Regions from separate parts of the Homo sapiens genome. Here region 1 is linked to region 2. Evidence: promoter capture Hi-C in human tissues and cell types (Jung and others, 2019). All regions are on one chromosome and are shown on one strand. The core of a region is centred on a gene start or on the middle of the fragment in contact, and the rest is flanking DNA. Distances in the headings are between cores, read along the strand shown.

Region 1 (5,336 bases), core at 2,405-4,904, 270 kb before region 2:
GCTCCCAGATTCTCCAAAGCCACAGAGCTCCTATAAGGGGAAGGACCAGGCCACTCTTTGTACGGGTGGAAAAGAATGCAAGGAGAATATCCATGGAAAAAAAGAGATTTATAATCTCTCTTCTCCTACTGAGATCATCACTCCCCACATCACAATTCAATTATGGCCTTCGCCCATGACCTAGATGACCCAGGTCACTTCATATTTCTTCCTTAGGAATTTCTGTGTGTGTGTGTGTGTGTGTGTGTGTGTGAGAGAGAGAGAGAGAGAGAGAGAGAGAGAGAGAGAGACAGAGTGGGCAGGGAGTGGTGAGTTAAGCCACATAAAGGGCAGGGAAAATGGGGCATGAAAAAGGTCAACAGAAGCAGAAGCAGGCCTTGGGATCCCCCTAGAGTTTACCATCAACAATTGCTCCAATCATCAAAGCCTCTACCTAGGAAAAGTACTCACTTGTCTTGGAGGCAAGAACTATCTGCAAGTCATGCTGCTAGTTTGCCAAATCTACATTTAATCAGAGCCCTTCTTTGTCTAAAAAAAGACATGCAAAATTGGTAAAGGCCCTCATACTTTCATAAAAGCAAATGCCTTTTCTACCTTTCCTCTTTTCTCTCTCTACTCCCTTCTCTGTTTGGATATTATCTAGCCAGAGAGGTCCATTAAGGTGAAAATCTAAATATTTGATCAGTCTAAGGGTTGAAGAAGTTGTAGAAAGAAATACAGAAATATTTTGGTAGTAGCTTTGACATCAAAAGCAAATGATCTGCATTTTAAAAAAATGAATTCCCTTGAGAGGAGTCAGAATAACTTCCAGAGGAAAAGTGGCATGCCTCCTCAGTGACTTGTAGAAACATCTAGTGTTTCGTATGTGAAGAAGGAAGTACTAAAGGTTTTGGAAATACACAGCCCACCTTACTTTTCTATGTCCTGGGAATTTGCTACCTGCAAGTGACTACCCACTTCATGGCATAGAAACTAACATTAGTTGAGTCACCATTATGTCCAAGTACTTTCCTAGGAATTTTTCTTCTTGTCATCAGTGTTACCCCTTACTCTCCACAATAACTGTTACAAAGTGGAATTTATTGTCTTCATTTCACAGATGAGGAAATTGAGAGTCAGTAACGGGGCCAGGATTTGATTACAGATATTGTAAACTCTGAAGCTTATCTTAGAATCCTAGTCTGATTTATAACAGGATCAGATGCATGCAGACATTTTCATATTGGCTATGCATAGCAAATGCATGTTCTCCTTTGTTTCTCCATTAGATAAGTGTTGATGCTCCATGTTTGGGTCTCCTGGCAGCAGAGCTGTCTCTTTTGTGTTCCCATGAAGATCCCTCGATTGTAAAACAAGCATCATTGGGAATGTGTCACCTCCTCTACATTGCACGGTGTCAGAACGGTAAGAACAGTTCACCATCTTTTCTCAGGATTACTAAGAATATGTCCCTCGTTATTCAACTTATAGGTCCTGGGAAGGCTCTACGTCTGTTAATTTCTAAATCCTGCCCCAAGAGTCATGGCTATACTTTCTAAAATGTGTCTTTTAATCTTTTTAGCATTGTCAAGAAATTTTGGTAATAGTGTGGTTGGTTCTTCAAGATTTATAAAGTACTGTGCTTAGATTACTTGAGGGTTAATGGTAGGGAGAGGAATGCTGGGTGGATCCAGGGAGGACAGAGAAGGAGAGAGTTTACCAATGGGACTTTAAAAATGCGGTATTTTTTTCTGTCTAATTGAGTATCTGATAGACTACTCAGAAGATTCTTGCTTCAATGGTGGAGAAAAATAAGACTAGGATTAAAATAAATGTTGCTGTGGCTTGTCTAACAAAGCATAAAAGCAAGACCTGAAAGTATTAAGCTATTTCCAAGTAATTTAATTGCATTTTAGAACAAAGCTTAAGAATATTTGTATATTTGTAAGGGGTGGAGCCTCTGTCTATGGAGGCTATGCCTCTGTTTCTGTCCAGGATGTAATAACAGAGAACACATTTACTCTATTTACACTCCTATAGTAAGCAACCTTAAAAATATACATAGTTTTTGGCAAGGCACAGTGGCTCACGCCTATAATCCCAGCACTTTGGGAGGCTGAGGTGGGCGGATCACAAGGTCAGGAGATCGAGACCATCCTGGCTAACACAGTGAAACCCCCTCTCTACTAAAAAATACAAAAAAATAAGCCGGGTGTGGTGGCAGGCACCTGTAATCCCAGCTACTCAGGAGGCTGAGGTAGGAGAATGGCGTGAACCCAGGAGGCAGAGCTTACAGTGAGCCGAGATCATGCCACTGCACTCCAGCGTGGGTGACAGAGCAAGACTCCGCCTCAAAAAAAAAAAAAAAAATACACACACACACACACACACACACACACACAGAGTTTTCAATTCATTGCACATTAAATAATAAAGGACAATGACTCTTGAAAGATGAGGAGGTGAGAACGAATGAGGTGGGGTTTGTAATTGCCTGAGCTTACCACCTAGAGTACATTTCTAAGAGCCAACACAAAAAGAGATAAGCCAGTGGTCTCATCAAGTTAAAAAGACAGAAATGGGAGTCCAGAGAGGTCAATAGCTAGGGTTGAAAGGCCAGGGTACCAGAACGGAGTACATGAGTGCATGCACACGCATACACACACACACACACGCACGCACAAACCCACAAACTCGAGATCTGCAGAGATCTAAAGAGAGCCCCCTTTAAGTATTTAGCTGAGTACTAATGAGAACATGCATGCAAGTAAACTGCCTGAGTTTGAAGGGTAGGAAACAACAAAAATGATTAGAGAAAAAGATTCAGTGCTCAACAAAGGCTAGTGATAATGCCTGTGCCTGTAAGCCAGAATTTAAAACCTTATAATTCACAAGTACCGAGGTACAGTACTCAGACGGGTTTTGTCTCATTAGGAGAAAAAAAATCATCCTAAACTGTTTTAGTGCTACTTAAAAAGGCCTTAAAACAAGATCTAAAAGTATCACTATCTCCAAATATTTTAATTACCTACCAAAACAAAGCTGAAGAATACCCCTAGAAATAAAAAAAAAAGTTCCTGCACTCAACAAGTTAAAATTAACAATGTCTGAAATCCAATTTAAAAAAAATTATTAGGTTGGGCACGGTGGCTCATGCCTGTAATCCCAGCACTTTTGGAGGCCGAGGCGGGCAGATCACCTGAGGTCAAGAGTTCGTGATTAGCCTGGCTAAAATGGTGAATCCCCGTCTCTACTAAAAATACAAAATTAGCTGAGCATGGTGGTGCGTGCCTGTAATCGCAGCTACTCAGGAGGCTGAGACAGGAGAATTGCTTGAACCTGGGAGGCAGAGGTTGCAGTGAGCTGGTATCGTGCCACTGTACTCCAGCCTGGGCGATAGAGAAATGGCACAGATGATAGAATGAGTAGAGTGTGACATTAAAAGAATTATTATAACTACATTCCACTTATTAAAGGAATTAGAAGATAAAAACATCTTAAGTAGAGACAGAAAAACTCCTAAAAGACTTATATTGAACCTCTGGAGGTAAAAATTACAATATCTGAGAAGAAAAATTCTCTGGCATGGATTAACAAAAACTTTGCAGAAGAAAAGATTAATGAGCTTGCAGACATAGTAATAGTAATTATCAAAATTTAAACAGAGAAATAAATGACAGACAAATAGAGCATCAGTGAGCTATCAGGCATGTCTAATATGAGTCTCTGAAGAGCCTAATACATATTTTATTTGAGTCTCTGAAAGTGAGAAAGTGAGGACAGAAAAACAAATTAAAGAATAATGACTGAAAAATTTTCAAATGTAATAAAAGCTATAAACTCACACACTGAAAAGCTCAGCAGAGAACAAGAAATGTGAAGAAAAGAACATCAAGGCACATCATAATTAAATTGCTTACAACAAGTGATAAAGAAAAAAATCTTAAAAGGAGCCAAAGAGGAAAAAGGACATTACATATAGAGAAACAAAGATAAGGGTGACAGCAGATTTCTCACCAGAAATGACACAAGTTATAGGCAATGAAGGAACATCATAAAATACAGAAAAGAAAAAAAAAGTCAATCTAGAATCCTTAAACCAGTAGAAATATCTTTCAAAATAAAAAGTAAAATAAAGACATTTTAGATATACAAGAGTTGGTAGAATTAATTACCATAAGATCTTTAACTGCAAGAAATGTTAAAGAAAATTCTTTTAGAAAAGGAAATTATACCAGACGAAAATCTAGATCTACAAAAAGGAATGAAGAGCACTGGAAAACTTCAGCAATATAGATAAATATTCATTTATCTTTCTTATTTAAATCTCTTTAAATGATAATCAACTCTTTAAAGATAATAACAAAAGTAAAATATATAAAAACAACACAAAAACTTAAAGGGAAAAATGTATAAATGTGTTTTAAAATTCTTCTCCTATGCACAAAGTTATAAAATAACACTTGAAAGTAAACTAATAAGTTAAGGATGTATCATCTAAACCCTAAAGCCACCATTAAGATAATATAGCAAAAAGTTATATATATTAAGCCAAAATGGAGCTAAAATGGAATCATAGAAAATAATTTAAAATGAGGCAAAAAAGAATAGAAAAAAAGCAGATAACACAAAATAGGAAACAAATAATCAAGACAAATTTTTAACCCAATCATAATAAATGTAAATATTCTAAATACCCCAAGTAAAAAGGCAGATTGTCAGACTGAATAAAAAGCAAGCCTCAACTATATGCTGCCTACAAGAAACTCACTTTAAATATAAAACATACATGAATTAAATGTTAAAAGTTAGACAATGATATAACATGTTAACAATAATAAAAAGAAAATTGGAGTGGCTATATTCTATTATTATAAAAAGATATATTTTAGAGATAAGAATGCCTCCAGGGAAAAGAAAGTCATTTCATAATGATAAAGGGATCGATTAATTAAGGAGACATAACAATTCTTTTTTGAATAGATTTAGGGGGTACAAATGCTGATTTGTTGCATGGATATATTCAGTAGTAAGCATCACCTAAATAGTGTACATGTTACCCATTAGGTCCTTTCTCATCCCTCACTCCCCTTTCACCTTCCCACTTTTATGAGTCTCTAATGTCTATTAATCTGCTCTGTATGCCCATGTGTACACATTATGTAGTGAGAACCTGTGGTATTTGACTTTCTGTTTTGAGTTATTTCACTTAAGAAAATGACCTTTTTTGCCTCAATGATCTAATACTGCCAGTGGGATGTTGAAGACTCCCACTATTATTGTGTGGGATGCTGAAATCTCTCACTATTATTGTGTGGGAGTCTAAGTTTCTTTGAAGAACTCTAAGAACTTGCTGT
Region 2 (5,448 bases), core at 2,555-5,054:
CTATGGAAAACAGTGTGGAGATTCCTTAAAGAATTGAAAGTAGTTCTACCATTTGATTCAGCAATCCCACTACTGGGTATCTAACCAGAGGAAAAGAAGTCATTACACAAGAAAGATACTTGCACAAGCATGTTTACGTCACCACAATTTGCAATTGCCAAAATATAGAACCAGCTCAAATGCCCATCAATCAATGAGTGGATAATAATTTATGATACATATATATATATACACACACACACACACCATGGAACACTACTCAACCATAAAAAAAGGAACAAAATAATGGCATTTGCAGCAACCTGGATGGAGTTAGAGACCATTATTCTAAGTAAAGTAACCCAGGAATGGAAAACCAAACATTGTATGTTCTCACTCATAAGTGGGAGCTAAGCTATGAGAATGCAAAGGCATAAGAATGATACGATGGACTTTGGGGACTTAGGGGAAAGGGCAGGAGGGAGGTGAGGCATAAAAGACTACACATTGCGTACAGTGTACACTGCTTGGGTGATGAGTGCACCAAAATCTCGCAAATCACCACTAAAGAACTTTTTCATGTAACCAAACACCACCTGCTCCCTAAAAACCTATCGAAATAAAAAATATACTTTTTAAAAAAGAAGATGATTGAGAAATACAATGAAGGAGCTAAGAAACATCCCTCTAGTGCATTGATCAATAAAGACTTGGTATGATGCATTAACAACCAATCCCCAAACCTCGATACCTTGAAATAAAACAAAGATTATTTCATGTATGTGTCCATTAGTGTAGGCCCTGCTCATCACATTCACCAGGTATTCGGACTAATAGAAGAGCCATCTTGAAAGTTGCTGATTACCACACTGAAGGAAAAGAAAGTTCTATGGAATCTTACTGGCAATTAAGTGCTCTAGCCCAGAAAGGACACCTTACTCTAGCTCACAGTTCTTTGACCAGAACGAGTCACATTCCTCCCAACCAACCGCTAGAGGGCCAAGAAGAACAATCCTACCATTCATCTTCCCTGAAGGTAGGAGGTCCAGAATATTTCCTAAAGAGCATTATTGTCTACCAATTCAGCTTCTTAGGGTCTAGGTCCACTCGAATAAGGGGACTACATATCCTTCCTTATCCCATGGCCTAGAGTATAACTGACTAACAAAAATCCCTAAAAATAGCAGAAACTGAAGTTGCCACCGAAGGCCGGTCTTCTCATTTTTAATTACTACAAGTCTCTTGCTGATTATGGAAAATGAGATGATATAATAAAATCATCATCTTATTCTCAACCAACAGTTTAAAGTCCTGTGATTCTCCTTATGTTAGCAGCATGCCTGGTAAGGCCCAGGGACAAGTTAAGTCCCACCATTAGTGTACCAAATCCCAGTACTTACATACTTACCTTGATGTGTATATGCTGCACACCAAGGTAAATTACAAATCAAACATATTCTGATTTTTGAAAACATACTTGAACTAATAGTCATTTTAAAGGCTTACTCTCTGGGTATAATTAAGCTTGAAATCATCCAAATATTATTATTTTCATAGCTGCAGCAAAGCAGCTGAATTTCACAGAGCTAACAATGCTGTCTCTGTGCTGAATACTTAATAAGCCAGAAATGAGGCAAAAGGTGAGCCCAATGAGCAAGCAGTATACTCAGTGATACACAGGACCTCCAGGTCAAAGGGTTATACCATGTTGAAAATCAAGGAAAAAGACATATTCTTTCAGAAATTTCTCTCTGCTTCAGTCCACCAACCTCTCATGGAATTTATTCTCTGTACCTGTGGGAGTCATTTCAGTGTTATGAACCAGCAATCAAGACACCTTATCTGGTCCAACAATGACAGCATCATCATCATCATCATTATCATCATTACAATCATACACAGTATTTACTATATATACACAAATCTCTTGACATAGATTATCTCATCTAATCCCCACCACAACTATCTGATGCAGATGTTATTATGCCTGTTTTATTTATTTTTTAGAATTTTTTATTTTATTTATTTCAATAGCTTTTGGGGGAGCAGGTGGTGTTTTGTTACCTGGATAAGTTCTTTAATGGTGATTTGTGGGTTTTGGTGCACCCATCATCTGAGCAGTGTACACTATACCCAATGTGTAGTCTTTTATGCATCACCCCCCACTCCAACACTTACCCCCAAGTCCCCAAAGTCCATTGTATCATTTTTATGCCTTTGTATTCTCATAGCCTAGCTCCAACTTATGAGTGAGAACATAGAATGTTCAGTTTTCCACTCCCAAGTTACTTCACTTAGGATAATGGTCTGCAACTCCATCCAGGTTGCTGTGAATGCCATTATTTCATCCCTTTTTATGGCTGAGTAGTATTCCATGGTATGTATATACCACGAATTATTTATCCACTCATTGATTGATGGGCATTTTGGCTGGTTTCATTTTTTGCAATTGCAAATTGTGCTGCTATAAACAAGTGTGTTCAAGTATCTTTTTTGTATAATGACTCCTTTTCCTCATTTTCAAGACAGCATCAGCTGCGGTAGTATAGGGAGAATGCAAGATTGCCCTAAGGTCTCCTGGATAAGTATTCGTGTTTCTCAGGCTAATAGTCAAAACTATTACAAAGTTCAGCTGGAAGTTTCCTTCTCCCTGTGGTCCTTCCTCAATTTCACTGGCAGCCCTCCTCAAGGACCCCTGTGAGATAAAGTCAGAAATGACTTCCCTGGGCACCAAGAGTACCTACAGGGCTCTTCCCACTGCTTCTACTTTTATATTTCGTTTTGCTCTCTAAATTCATCCCAGCTCTAGGTAAGGTTAAATCCTTCTCCTGTGATCTGGATTTTTAGGTTCCCTAGTGGGTTTGCGTGTTTGGAGGCAGATTTTTTCCCCCACTCACACTTTGGGCACTCACAGTTTTTCAGCTGTCTCATGGAGTTTGCAGCGGCAAGCCACTTCTTTCAAAGGTCCTGTGAATTCTTTTGGTTTTCCTGGTATGTTCATGCAGTACTTCTTGGAGGAAAATTTCACTGTGTGAGTCTCCACATGCTGTTCTGTCTGTCTGCGTGGAAACTGCAAGTTAGTCCTGCCTCCTATCCACCATTTTCCAACAATCTGTCGTTAACCATTTCAAAGTATAGAATTCAGTGGCATTTAGTACATTCATAATGCTGTGTAACCACAACCTCTATCCAGTTTCAAAACACTTTCATCACACCCAAAAGAAAACTCCATACTCATTAGCAATCCTTCCCCATTCCCTTCTTTCCCCAGCCCCTGGCAGCCACTCGATCATGCCTATTTTAAATTGAGGAAACTAAAGCTGAGAAAAGTTATACAATTTTTCCAACATGACTCTGATAATAGCTGGTGAACGCAATACTCGAACCCAGGACTTGTGATTCCCAAGATCAGACTCCTCCCATATACCTGTCTTTTATTTCCCAAGTGCTTGGGCAATCAGCTGCACTTAAAAAGCCTTTACAAATTGAGTTTACTAATGTGAGTAATATATGATTTTTTAAAAATAATAATTGTCCCTAAAGGTGAAATGGATCAAAGCCCTTAAAAGTGAATCTGTGGTGTAGTAACTGTTAACATAATTGTCTTATTTTATTCTCATCCCCTTAAAGAATAAAACTGATGAACAAGTGAGGATGCTGGTGTAACTCCCTAACTTAGTTTATAGTCTGTAAGCAGAAGAGTGAGTCTAAAGTACATATCACCAGACAGTGTTTCTCCTAGCATTTCGCTGTTGCATTAATCAACAAGTTAAAATATAAACAACGGCTAACCTTGGGTTTCAAATTTAACATTCCTTATCTCTTAGACCAGGTTTATCCACTGTGCTGGGGACTCCCAAGCCAGCACTGGCTCATACTGATTCATTTTGATCTCTGCTAATACCAGAGTCCTGCGTGGCAGAGCCATTGGCACCAGAAATTACAAGTACGTAAAGTAAGTAACCAGATATAATCTCTGATTTCTTTGGATGAGGAAAGTGGGGTCTGGAGTTTTCCTGTTTTGTTATTGTGCTCCAGGGAAGAACCACCTTATCAGAAAGCAGCTTTCTCTGTCCAACCCTGGAGGAGCTATAAAGCTACTCCTTGGCCCAAAGTATAGGAGTAGTAAATGTTTGGATACTTATAATGGGACAATATCATTGATTCAACCACTTAATAATCTACCCAGCAGTATACTTACCTGTCTTCCATGTACACAGGTAAGTATACTGTTGGGTAGATTATTAAGTGGTTGAATCAAATGGGAAAAACTTGGATTTCTAATGCAAGAGGAAAAGTCTCTTTTTTTTTTTAGTGCTTCCATCAGCAGCTTCTAACATTGTCTGAGATCATAGTTTTTGAAGGGTGACTACCAAATGTTGGCATTTGGCACAAGTGGGAAGCAAAAGGCAAGCCCCTTTAGAATTTGACTAATCTGTTCTGTCATGTCATCTTTTTTTCTGTTGTTAAAAGTGTTTCGTGCTTCATTCTATGTATTATGTCAAAATTTATTGATTTCCATGTGATTGGCACATCTTTTTTACTAATCCTGCTCCAGTTAAATTCACAAGATCATAAACATCAAGGGTTTGAAAATCATTTTTAGATATTCAGGTCTATGCCATCTGTTCTGCAGATGGAGAAACTGAGTCCTTGGTTATTAGAGTTTCCCCTGCATCCTAGGGAATCTGCTATGGCCTTGTAACTGGCACAGAGGACCTAAAGCCTGGGAGAATTTTTATTTGCTTGTTGTGGTTAGGAACATTTGAGTAAATGAGGAGCTGCTGCTAGAGGACAGAAATCCCAGAGTATGGCCCTCCTTGGACCCAAGTTTCTTACCAGCTGTGCTCCTTTGTTCCCAGGGGCTAAGTAGGCACCTTCACCCACCCCAACTGCCATCCAGCTGAATCTCTCTCTGATTACTCCTGAAATGTCACAACCCACTTGAGGATAGGGTATCATTGTGCAGTCTGTGCCAACCAGTATTCTGAAGTATTTTCATGCACTAAGGTGTAGGAGTGTGTGTGTGTGTGTATGTGTGTGTGTGAGAGAGAGAGACAGAGGGAGTAGGGAAGGAGGAGAAGATGGGGAATGCATAAATAGAGGGCTGGATACAAATCTGACAGTGCCAATGGCTTCCTAGTAAATGCATAGGTGAGTCACACTGGAAACAGTTAAACATTGGCTAATTGATACAATGCTAGCCTCAAATATAGTATAATATGCATTTTCTTGACATCAACAAATAAAATCTCCGGGTCAATAAAATAAACTCGGAAAATAAAACTCTTGCCCAGAAGTTTTCAACTTTCTAGGTTCAAGGAGCCCTTGGTGTGCAATTTCTTCAAGGTGCCCCCAGACCATAGTTTCTCCTATTAAGTAGACAAAAACTTAATAACTATTTATGTTCTAACAACTTTGTAGTTTTTTGAACAAGTAATATACAAACTAAAAGAAAAATAATATTTT

The links. The method cuts DNA at HindIII sites, captures the fragments that hold promoters and counts their contacts. A contact is called where the count stands out against the background at its distance.
Region 1: a contact is called between a fragment that was not itself captured here and the fragment with the promoter of FMO1 in region 2, in 3 of the 25 tissues and cell types used here (adrenal gland, bladder and mesendoderm cells).

Annotation. Positions count from the first base shown.
Region 1 is chr1:170,970,480-170,975,815 of GRCh38, forward strand. It overlaps MROH9 (maestro heat like repeat family member 9), which reads left to right. Exons shown (of 22, transcript NM_001163629.2): 8 at 1,269-1,404. Among named protein-coding and RNA genes, the nearest start is that of MROH9, 38 kb to the left of the region's middle. The HindIII fragment of the contact is 4,244 bases long and covers 1,533-5,336 here.
Region 2 is chr1:171,244,690-171,250,137 of GRCh38, forward strand. FMO1 (flavin containing dimethylaniline monoxygenase 1) reads left to right here and starts at 3,805. Exons shown (of 9, transcript NM_001282693.2): 1 at 3,805-3,934. It overlaps FMO1-AS1 (FMO1 antisense RNA 1), which reads right to left. Exons shown (of 5, transcript XR_922278.4): 2 at 2,892-3,038. The HindIII fragment of the contact is 7,695 bases long and covers 551-5,448 here.